Linked DNA regions of Homo sapiens: region 1 is linked to region 2. The links are contacts of gene promoters, found by promoter capture Hi-C in blood cells and fetal thymus (Javierre and others, 2016). All regions are on one chromosome and are shown on one strand. The core of a region is centred on a gene start or on the middle of the fragment in contact, and the rest is flanking DNA. Distances in the headings are between cores, read along the strand shown. Region 1 has its middle 7.0 kb from the start of TTLL12. Region 2 holds the start of EFCAB6 (EF-hand calcium binding domain 6).

Region 1 (6,001 bases), core at 341-2,840, 620 kb after region 2:
GGGGCGCCCACATTTAGGGAACAGACATGCTTCTAACTGGCAGAAGGCAAAATGTCCATATTTCAAATCCCATTTCCCCGCATAACTCATGATGAAATGAGAGTTTTGTTTTTGTTTTTTTTTTTTTCAGACAAGAGTCTCACTGTTGCCCAGGCTAGAGTAGTGGCGTGATCTCGGCTCACTGCAAGCTCCGCCTCCTGAGCTCACGCCATTCTCCTTCCTCAGCCTCCCGGGTAGCTGGGACTACAGGCGCCCGCCACCACGCCTGGCTAATTTTTTGTATTTTTAGTAGAGACGGAGTTTCTCCGTGTTAGCCAGGATGGTCTCGATCTCTGACCTCGTGATCCGCCCGCCTCAGCCTCCCAAAGTTCTGGGATTACAGGCGTGAGCCACCGTGTCCGGCCAAGAGTTGTTCTTTGACACTGGGGCTTTAATCTGGAAGTCATGGTCACAGTGAGCCTCAGGGAATCTATGACTCATTGAAATTCGGCACGCAATGCTGTGTGTGTGTGTGTGTGTGTGTGTGTGTGTGTGTGTACACATGCATGTACAGATACACATTTCTATTTCTCTGGGAATATGGCCCACAGCTTTCCTCAGGTTCTAAAAGAAATCTAGGGTCAGGTGCAGTGGCTCACACCTATAATCCCAGCACTTTGGGAAGCCAAAGCAGGAGGATTGCATGTGTCCAGGAGTTCGAGACCAGCCTGGGCAACATGGCAAGACTCCCCCATCTCTACAAAAAATGAAAAATAAAAAATAAAAACTGACAAAAGATATATACATGCATTTCGCAGAAGAAGAAACAGGACAGCCAATTACCATTTGAAAAGGTGCTCAATCTCATTAATAATAATGGAAATACAGGCTGCTCTGCCTAGGAGTAGCCATGCTTTTGTTTCTTTACTTCTCTAATAAACTTGCTTTCACACACACACAAATGGAAATATAAATTGAGACAACAAAAATATGCCATGTTAGCACTAGGTTGGCAAAAAAACAATAATAAGTGTGATAAAATCAGAATCAGAGAGGATATGGATCAACTTACTGTATACAAATAGGGAATCTCTTTTTTACATATATGTTCCAGGAAATATACAAAACTATTCATAGCCTCATGTTTATTAGAGCAAAAAGCTTAAGATAACCTAAGTCTCTTCGTGGAAAACTGCATCATAGTCACGTAATTAAATATTATGTAGCTATGACAATTAATTAACATCCTGCAACAAAAGGGATATATCTTAAAAGCAACATGTGCAGGAACAAGACCAGGATGCGTGCCTGCACCGCTCTGCTGGAGGTCTAGCCAGGACAATTAGGCAGGAAAAAAATATAAACAGCATCCAGATTGGAACGGAAACAAAATTATCCATTTCACATGTCCTGATCTTCTATATGGAAGATACTTAAGGAATCCACAAATAATTACTAGAGCTGATGAAATTCACAAGGTTACAGAACATAAGATCAATATATAAAAATCAGTTGTACGGTGGGCACAGTGGCTCACCCCTGTAATCCCAGCACTTTGGGAGGCCAAGGTGGGTGGAGAGCCTGAGCTCAGGAGTTCAAGACCAACCAGTGCAACATGGAGAAGCCTTGTCTCTACCAAAAATACAAAAAATTAGCCAGGCATGGTGGCACGCACCTGTGGTCGTAGCTACTCGGTAGGCCGAGGTGAGAGGATCGCTTGAGCCTAGGAGGCAGAGGTTGCAGTGAGCCGAGATCCAGCCACTGCACTCCACCCTGGGTGACAAAGTAAGACCCCATCTCAAAAAAAGAGAAAAGAAATTAAAGAAGATCTGTACTCTTGGATTGGAAGACAGTATTGTCAAGATGACAGTACTCCCCAAATTGGTCTAGAGATTCAGTGCAATCCCCATCAACATCCAGGCTGGCTTCGTGCACAAACTGACATGCGAATCCTAAAATTCATATAGAAATGCAAGAGACCCATAGTAGCCAAACAGTCTTGAAAAAGAACAAAATTGGAGGATTCACGCTTCTCATTTTTAAAACTTACTACAAGCTTACATTAATCAAGATTTTGTGGTACTAGCAGAAGGACAGACCTACAGATCAATGGAATAGAATTCAGAGTCCAGAAATGAACCCTTAAATTTATCATCCATCAGTTGGTTTTCAACGAGAGTGCCAAAACCATTTAATGGGGAAAAAATAGTCTCTTCAACAAATGGTACTAGGACAACTGGATATCTACATGCAAAAGAAAGGAAGTTGGACCCCTACCTCCTATACAAAAAATCAACTCAAAGTGATCAACGACTGAAATGTAACAGCTAAAACTATAAAACTCTTAGAAACTAAGACAGATAAATAAGTCTTTGGAATCTTGAATTAGGCAATGGCTTCTTTTTTTTTTAACTTCAATTTTTGTATTTCCGTTAAGTTTTGGGGGAACAGGTGGTGTTTGGTTACATGAATAAGTTCTTTAGTGGTGATTTCTGAAACCTTGGTGCACCCATCACCTGAGCAGTACACCCTCTACCCAGGCAATGCCTTCTTAAATGTAACACACAAATAATAAGGCACCAAAGAAAAAATATATAAATTGGACTTCACCAAAATTGAAAACTTGTACTTCAAAGGGCTCTGTGAAGAAAGTGAAAAGATAACAGAATAGGAAAAAAACCTTTACAAATCACATATCTGATAAGACTCCAGTATCCAGGATATGTAAAGAACTCTTACAACTCAACAATAAGACAAATAACCTAATTTAAAAATGAACAGGCGGCCAGGCATGGTGGCTCACACCTGTAATCCCAGCACTTTGGGAGGCCGAGGCGGGCGGATCACGAGGTCAGGAGATCAAGACCATCTTGGCTAACACAGTGAAACCCTGTCTCTACTAAAAATACAAAAAACTAGCCGGGTGTGGAGGCAGGCGCCTGTAGTCCCAGCTACTCGGGAGGCTGAGGCAGGAGAATGGTGTGAATCCAGGAGGTGGAGGTTGCAGTGAGCCGAGATCGGGCCACTGCACTCCAGCCTGGGTAACAGAGCAAGACTCCGTCTCAAAAAAAAAAAAAAAGAAAAGAAAAAAAAAAAAGAACAGGCTGGGAGCAGTGGCTGTAATCCCAGCATTTTGGGAGGCCAAGGAAGGCGAATCACCTGAGGTCAGGAGTTTGAGACCAGCCTGACCAACATGATGAAACCGCATGTCTACTAAAAATACAAAAAATTAACCAGGCGTGGTGGCATGCACCTGTAATCCCAGCTACATAGGAAGCTGAGGCAGGAGAATCACTTGAACCCAGGAGGAGGAGGTTGCAGTGAGCCAATATCACACCATTGCACTCCAACCTGGGTGACAAGAGGGAAACTACGTCTCAAAAAAACAACAACAAAAAACAAAAGAACAAAGAAGGCCAGGCACAGAGGCTCATGCCTGTAATCCCAGCATTTTGGGAGGCCAAGATAAGAGGATCACTTGAGGCCAGGAGTTCAAGACCAGCCTGGGCAACAAAGCAAGACCCTGTCTCTATATCAACAACAAAAAAATGGACAAAGAGGCTGGGCACAGTGGCTCACACCTGTAATCCAGCACTCTGGCAAGCCAAGGCCAGCATATCGCTTGAGGTCAGGAATTCAAGACCGGCCTGGCCAAAATGGTGAAACCCCATCTCTACTAAAAATACAAAATTTAGCCGTGGGCACCTGTAATCCCAGCTACTAGGGAGGCTGAGGCAAGAGAATCACTTGAACTCAGGAGGCAGAGTTTGCAGTGAGCCGAGATCACGCCACTGCACTCCAGCCTGGGCGACAGAGAAAGACTCTGTCTCAAAAAAAAAAGGACAAAGAATGTGAATAAACATTTCTCCTAAAAAGATATGCAATTGGCCAATAAGCACATGAAAAGATGATTGACATCATTAGTCATTAGGGAAAATACAAATGAAAACTGTAAGATACCACTTCACAACCACTAGAACTATAATCAAGAGTCAGGGAATAACAAGTGCTGGCAGGAAAACTAGAACCCTCGGCCAGGCACAACGGCTCATGCTTATCCTAATATTTTGGGAGGCGAAGGCAGGAGGATCAGGTGAGGTCAATAATTTGAGACCAGCCTGGGCAACTAGCGAAACCTCATCTCTATTAAAAATAAAACTTAAAAAATTAGCCATGGCCCAGGCACAGTGGCTCACACCTGTAATCCCAGCACTTTGGGAGGTCGACACCTGTGGATCACTTGAGGCCAGGAGTTCAAGACCAGCCTTCACAACATGACGAAACCCAGTCTCTACAAAAAATACAAAAATTAGCCAGACGTGGTGGCATATGCCTGTAATCCCAGATACTTGGGAGGCTGAGGCAGGAGAATTGCTTGAATCCAGGTGGCAGAGGTTGCAGTGAACCAAGATCGCACCACTGCACTCCAGCCTGGGCAACAGAGCGAGACACCATCTCAAAAAAAAAAAAAAAAAAAAAAAAAAAAAAAAATATATATATATATATATATACACGTATATATATATATATACGTATATATATATACACATATATATACACGTATATATATATACTCATATATATATATACTTACCAGTTTATAAAAAACAGTTGAATCCAAATTATTTTTCTGACAAAATGGGGTAAGATTAAACTTTAAGAATTTTTAAAATACGCCACCTTATAAAGGTTGTGAGCCAAATTTTGGGTAACACAGCCTAAGTCAGTTACCAATATACTGTGTTGGACAAAGAATAGTTAACTGTGAAAACATGACTGCATTATGTGATGAGGCCCAAAAGATAGGAGTGACTCTAACCAGTCTTTACAGTATTCGTTTGGACTCTATTTTTTGTCCTTGAAGAAAAGAGTGTTGCCCTTTCTTTTAGTATAAGGAGGAAGTCTTTCCATGAGAATTTCATCTTTTGCTTTTAAGAAACAGCATGAAGTTCATAATGATTTTCTTTTTGTATCTCCTGGTTGTCAAGTGTTTTTACTTAAATAGTCAGTATTCCAGAATAGCCATTTAGAGGATAAAAAGGAGGAATTGTAAGGATTGGGGAGGCTCCAGAAAGGAACAGTTTCAGCTAGCTTTGACTCAGTGTTTTGTAGGAAGGCAATCTTTGAGTCCTGAATGGACTTGTTTTTTAGCCTCAAGGTATCAATGAGAAATACATACTTAGAGTGTATGATTTTATAACCATGGTCTTTTAATTTAAAGAATAAACTGAATGATCCCTATAATGTTTGAATATATTACTAGCTGGAGTCCTAGAAAATTTGGCATGCCTTTGAACTTTGAGACCTCATTTTAACTAAATATATCTAGGTGACTGAGATTGGTTTTTTCCCTTTTTTTTTTTTTTTTAGTGGCTTATCCAGCAAGTAAGGTGATTTAGTTTAATGTTGAGTACACAAAGGCCAAAGAAACACAAACAGACAGAAAATATAAGTATGTACTCACCAGGAAGAATAATAGTCATCTTCAAATGAGGGGAAAAAAATCCCCTCATCCAAACCTCAAGATCCAGACCTCACAGCTGAGATCAACAGGAGGAAAATAACCCTCCCCAACAGCAGATATCCCACACAGGACAGGGAAAGTCACCTCCCCAGCCATTTCCCAAATAAGAGAGAACTCAAACCAAATTCAGGAGTTCTGTCCAAGAGAGACTTACCAGGTGGGAGAAGAGGTGACTCACAAAGGTAGAAGGGTGTCAGAGGGCCCCAGTGTGAGATTCTCCCCAAAGTGGTTCAGTGCTTGGTCCCACTGCTGACACCATGTATGTCAAAATCAAAAATGTAGAGACAGCTCTGTAAACTTAATGTGTGTAGTTTTTTGTTTTTTTGTTTGTTTTTTTGAGACAGGGCTTCACTGTGTTGCTCAGGCTGGAATGCAGTGACACAGTCATGGCTCACTGCAGCCTCAACCTCCAGGGCTCCAGCAATCCTCCCGCCTCAGCCTCCCGAATATCTGGGACTACAGGCACCCACGACCATACCTGGCTAATTTTTGTATTTT
Region 2 (6,121 bases), core at 2,030-4,529:
CATTTTTCTTTTGTATTATGACTACTTTTTCTCCTGTAAGTAATAAGTGATCTGTGGGACTATCCTTTAAAACAATGCAAATATCCTGCTCCCCATCCAAAGAACCCCGAGATGAAGCACCCGTGAATGATCCTTGCCTGAATCAATCTTCACTCAGTGGTTGCAACATGATGGCTTTTCAGCTCTAGTCCTCCTGCATGACCATTTGTCCCTAGGCCTGCTACTGCAAGCACGTGCCCTCCCTTGTCCTGCATTTATTCTATCTGTCCATCGCTCCTGGGCCTGGACTCATGACTCCTATTTCTTTTACTGTCCTTCATTATTCTGGCCAGCAGGAGCCCCATTCAAGCTGGCTTCTGGGCTTTGTGACCATAGCGATCCTGGGGGGAGAATGAGGTTGAGGTTGTAGGATGGTCCCAGTGGCCCTGCATGCTGTTTTAAAGATTTTTATTTTTAGCATAAGAAGGCTTTTAAGGCAAGGTAGTGCAGGGGAACTTGGAGAGAATGGATGAGATTGCTACCATGTACGTATTCTGGTGTTAGAATCGACAAGACTTGCTGAAGCACTAGATATGGGGTATGAGGTAGTGATCATTGAGGGTAACAACAAGGCTTCCTAGTTTGAGCATTGCTTTGGAATAGGTGAGTGCGGGCAGGCACAGTAGCTCACACCTGTAATCCCAGCACTTTGGGAGGCCGAGGCAGGCGGATCACGAGGTCAGGAGTTCAAGACGAGCCTGGCCAACATGGTGAAACCCTGTCTCTACTAAAAATACAAAAATCAGCTGGGCATGGTGGCTCACGCCTGTAATCCCAGCTACTCGGGAGGCTGAGGCAGAGAATTGCTGAAACCTGGGAGGTGGAGGTTGCACTGAGTCGAGATCGCACCATTGCACTCCAGTCTAGGCGACAGAGCAAGACTCCGTCTCGAAAAAAAAAAAAAAGTAATAGGTGAGTGAGGGAGGTGAGTGGATCAAGGGCAATATGGATGGCTTAAGTCTGAGTGATCTCCAGTACATTCCAGTAGAGGGGTCAAGGCTGGTGAGAAGCATAACAGCAGGACCTACGACAGGGTCAGAGGGGCCCTAACATCCAAAGGCCACACAGAGGAGGGAAGTCACCAGTGGGGCCCAAGAATTGAGTAGTTGGTGTGGTATTAGAGAAGCCTGAAGTATTTCAGGCAGAAAGGAGTGATCAACTGGGCTGAATGCTACTGAGAGGTCAAGTAATGTACGGCCAAGTAGAGAAGAAGTATTTGTGAGAATGCCAGTTACCAGGCAATGAGAGTCACGCTTCTGTGAAATTTGGTAACTGAAAGACAGCATGTATAGACAGCTCTACTGAGAAGCAGGTTAAAGAGGAGCAGAGAAATGGGGTGGAAACCAGAAGATCATCTATTTTTTTTTTAAAGATGTGAGATACTAGAGCATGTTCCAAGAAGGAGGGAAAGAGAGAAAGAGAAAGAATGAGACTCTTGGCTATCATGAGAGAGGGAATAACTGAAGCCCTTTTGATCTCAGGACCAAACTTTTTGGCCTCAGGATCCATTCACACTCTTAAAAAGTATTGAGGATCCCAAAAAACTTTTATTTATGTTTATATCTATCAATATTTACCATGTTAGAAAATACAATTGATAAAAAATTTATTAACTCATTAAAAATAATAAACCCATTAGATGTTAACGTTCTCTAATGAAAAATTACACTTTCCAAAAAAGTGAAAAGAGGGGCAGTTTTCTATTTTTGCAGATCTCTTTAACATCTGGCTTAGTACAAGACCGCTGGATCTCTTACCTTCTTTTGCATTCAATTTGTTGCAATATCACACATCATGTAGCTTCTGGAAAATCCCCCCATATACTTATGAGAGAAAAACAATGAAAAAGCAAGTAAAGTCTTAAGTGTTATGAAAGTATTTTTTGGCCCCATGGACAGTCTGAAAGGGTCTCAGGATCCCCAGGGATTCCCAGACCACACTTAGAGCACTGCCTATAATAAAGAAGGCAAATGGGGAGGGATCCAGGACACAGTTAGAGGGACTGGCCTCTGTAAGAGACCCTCTTTTGGGGCAAGAGGAAAAGAGGCGATGAATGCCAAAGTGATTGTGAAGGAGTGCATTCCATTCTTATGCATTACATTTTCTCAATGGGATAAGACCCATGGTCATTGAGTCCGGTGAGGAAGTAGTGAGTGCGGGAGGTCTGAGACAAGCCATGGGAAAGAATTCTCTTGGTGAACAGGAAAACTAGCTGCCCAGTGAAGTAGTCAGAGTGCCCAGCAGGGACCGCATAGTATCCATCTTTGCAGCACACACCAGGGCACCTAATTGACCTGCCGCAGCCATGTGTGCAAGGAATTCCAAGCTGCACACGTCTGCCTGGCTGCTTCTCTCCCACAGTGAGCAGTGTGGCAGGGTGCCTAAGAGCAAGCTCCATAGGTTCTCATTCTGCTCCTACCCCTGACTGGCAGTGTGTCCTTGAACAAAATGCTCTGTGTGCCTCAGTTACCTATCTGTAAAATGGGAGTAACCACAGCACCCACCTCACAGGGTTGTTGTGAAGACAAATGAAGATGACAATTACATGTAAAGTACATACCTAGGATGGGTGAGTGCCTGGCAAGGGAAGTGCTCCATAGGGTCAGCGACAACAATTACATTCACTCACGTGATTTATGGCGCTTCCACTCGGCCCTCTGTCTTAGTAATAATTCACTCATTTAGCGAATATCAATGGAATGGATGCTTACTGTGGGTATGGGCGGAGGCTGAGGTTACAGCCTGGGCAAAGCAGGCCAGCTCCCGTCCTCACCGGCTGTCTCCTCGAGCAGACAAGCGGACCCAGTGAGACCCGCTACGTGGTGGCACAATGCGAGTCCCCATGACTGCTCACCCTAACGAAGGCGCAGGATGCGGTAGGGGCTTTGCGGACCTCACTGCAGCCAATCCTGACCACAGGCCCCAGTGGGCACGCTTAGCCTTTTACAGATGCAGAGTCTGCTTCTCAGAGCAGGGGGCTGACTTCCCCCGGCTACACGGCCCTATGCAGTTCGGTGGGACCGGGCCGACCGCCCAGCTCGCGCTAAAGCCCACGTAACAGAAACCCGCTCCCATGACACGGGTCGCCAGGGTTCCCGCTCCCCAGAGAACGGGACTTCCGGCGGAAATTTCTTCCGGGAGCGGAGGCGCGGGACTGACCTGGCCCCGCCCCCTCCTCGTTTATCTCCAATTGACCAATCACAGCTCAGCTTCTTGCCAGGCGCGTAGGCTCATTCTCCAGTCAGCGACTGCCGTCGTCTCTCGGGCAACAGCGTCCTAGAGACGCCGAATGGGCAGCCCCTCTGAGACCCCGCGGCTTGGGGTCCGCGCACGCGGGTGCCGGCCCAGCTAGGCGGAGAATCGAGGAGGGGTTCCCGGTAAGGCTGTATTCGGGGTGGCCACGCGCGTGCGACAGGCCGAGGAGGGGCCGGGCGGGCGGGCAGCTCCGTGGGTCTCACTGCCCTGAGAAGGCCGGCGCTGCTGCCCACCCCCAGGGACGAAGGGGTGGTGATTCGTTTATTCAGGTGTTCATGGCGCGTCTGCTTGTGCCAGGCATGTTGTAGGCCCTGGGGCCCTGTGGGGAACAGTAGGGCCCCTGTTCCCGTAGCTTACCTGATATGTGGAGAAGAACGATAAACAACGCTGACGGTGGTGACGTCTTCTTCCCTGCCTCTCTGTGAGAATCAGCTGGGAAATGTGTGTGGAAACGCCCTAAATCTCTCCAGTTTACAACATGTCTCATGCCCCTGATTTCATTTGTGCCCACAGCAGTCTTGTGAATGTCATGATTGACTCCCTCCTGTAGACAGACGAGGACTTGAAACCTGTGGGGTGAAGGGGCTTTTCCAAAGTCACACAACTATCTTAGGAAGTTTCTGAGCCAGAATTCAAACTCATTTCTGTATCACGGCAAAATCTCTGCTCTTTTACACTCTTCTCCCACAGCCTGCACATAATTACCCCTGCCTCCCTCAGAAATTTTGTTTGGAAGCACTTTGTGAGGTATACATCTGTATAGGGCTTACTTGAAGGTTGTCCAAATCACCCCTCTCTCTACTCCCTTCCTTTCTCTCCAAATCTTTGCCTTTCAGGATGTCTTGCCCCTGTTAAGAGGACTCTTCTTTTCTTTTCTTTTTTCTTTTCTTTTCTTTTCTCCCTCCCCTCCCCTCCCTTCCCTTCCCCTTTCTTCCCTTCCTCCCCTCCTCTCTCCTCCCCTCCCCTTCCCCTCCGCTCCCCTCCCCTTCCCTCCCCTCGCCTCTCCTTTTCTTTCCTGATGGAGTCTTCCTCTGTCACCCAGGCTGGAGTGCAGCGATCCCAGCTCACTGCAACCTCCACCTCCCGGGTTCAAGCGATTCTCGTGCCTCGGTGTCCCAAGTAGCTGGGATTACAGGCGCCTGCCACCACGCCCAGCTAATTTTTGTATTTTTAGTACAGACGGGATTTCACCATGTTGGCCAGGTTGGTTTCAAACTCCTGACCTCAAGTGATCCATCCGCCCGCCTTGGCCTAATTTAATATGTGTTCCTAAATGGGTGGCCTTAACAGAAATGCTGTAAATCAATTCTACTTTCATACACTACAGTTCATGTCTTTTATCCATTGCCTTCAATTCAGCAAACGTTTACTTGGCTAAGTTCTGGGGATATGAAAGTGAGTCAGAAATGGCCCCTTTGATTATATGTGAAGATATTTGCCTCCTATCCAGTCTTATTGCAAGATCCTTTGAGGATGAGGATTTTATTTTAGTTATCTGTGCTTTCCCTTTTTCCTCTATGCTTATTTTAATGCTTGGTTCATGATAGGTGATCATAGATATTTATCAAGAAGTGCTTACCTGAGACTGTAAATTTCGCTCTCCAGGGAAAAACTGCCCTGTTCCAGCTATCTACCTCTTCCCCTTGTACAGAGATCTCTATAGCACCCATGCTCTGATCTCTGCAGCTGACTGGCACCTGGAGACAGAACCAGCTCCATGAGGATGTTTAGTAGCCTGGTGCCTGCCCAGATCAGGAATCTGGTGAGAGGCCACTGGTTGTTAACAAGGCAGTTGTTAACAACTGAGACAGGTTTGAGAAAACTGTGAATAGAGATAACATGAATATGATACCCTTTCAGTATTAAAAGCTTCATTTTCTACTTTTGGTTTTGATCTTTCACTGCTATTTTGTTTACTTTGTTTCAGGTACCATTTGTTACTTTTTCTTTCCATCTATTTGTCCACAGTTTTACTACTTCTATTTCTACTACAGCAACTACTAATACTACTACTGGCTAATACTAATTGAACACTTACTGTGTGCCAAGCACAGTTTGGTCCCTCATACTTTTTAAATTTAGTCCTCACAAGTTGGCTATGGAAAAGTACAAGTTGGGTGTGGTGGCTTATGCCTGTAATCCTACCACTTTGGGAGGCTGAGGCAGGAGGATCGCTTGAGGCCAGGAGTTCGAGACCAGCCCAGGCAACAAAGTCAGACCCCCCCCATATCTATGGTGGCATGTGCCTGTACTTCCAGCTACTCAGGAGGCCGAGATGGGAGGATCACTTGAACCCAAGAGTTTTAGGTTGCAGTGAGCCATGATAATGCCACTGTACTCCAGCCTGGGCGACAGAATGAGACCCTGTCTCAAAAAACAAAACAGGCTGTGCGCGGTGGCTCATGCCTGTAATCCCAGCACTTTGGGAGGCCGAGGCGGTTGGATCACCTGAGGTCAGGAGTTCGAGACCAGTCTGGCCAACGTGGTGAGACCCTATCTCTACTAATACAAAAAATTAGCCAGGCATGGTGGCAGGCACCTGTAATCCCAGCTACTCCAGAAGCTGAGGCAGGAGAATCTCTTGAACCTGGGAGGTGGAGGTTGCAGTGAGCCGAGGTCACACCATTGCACTCCAGCCTAGGCAACAAGAGTAAAACTCCATCTCAAAACAGACAAAACCAAAACCAAACAAAAAAACAAAACAAAAGGCAACAGGGACACAGAGAGGTTAAGGGACTTAACAAAGCTGATAAATGGTAGTGAGTATGGCTCCAACTCCAGGACTGCCTGATAATAACCTGTGTTCTTGATGAGTATGCTATCACTC

The links. The method cuts DNA at HindIII sites, captures the fragments that hold promoters and counts their contacts. A CHiCAGO score of 5 or more calls a contact.
Region 1: a contact is called between a fragment that was not itself captured here and the fragment with the promoter of EFCAB6 in region 2, in 1 of 17 cell types (endothelial precursors). The highest score is 5.8, in endothelial precursors.

The regions. Positions count from the first base shown.
Region 1 is chr22:43,191,102-43,197,102 of GRCh38, reverse strand. No RefSeq gene overlaps it. Among named protein-coding and RNA genes, the nearest start is that of TTLL12, 7.0 kb to the right of the region's middle. The HindIII fragment of the contact is 895 bases long and covers 1,143-2,037 here.
Region 2 is chr22:43,809,463-43,815,583 of GRCh38, reverse strand. It overlaps EFCAB6 (EF-hand calcium binding domain 6), which reads left to right and starts at 3,279. Exons shown (of 32, transcript NM_022785.4): 1 at 3,279-3,416. It overlaps EFCAB6-DT (EFCAB6 divergent transcript), which reads right to left and starts at 3,162. Exons shown (of 2, transcript NR_186822.1): 1 at 2,600-3,162. RefSeq lists enhancers at 1,872-2,673, 2,915-3,184 and a silencer at 3,516-3,757. The HindIII fragment of the contact is 9,229 bases long and covers 1-5,165 here.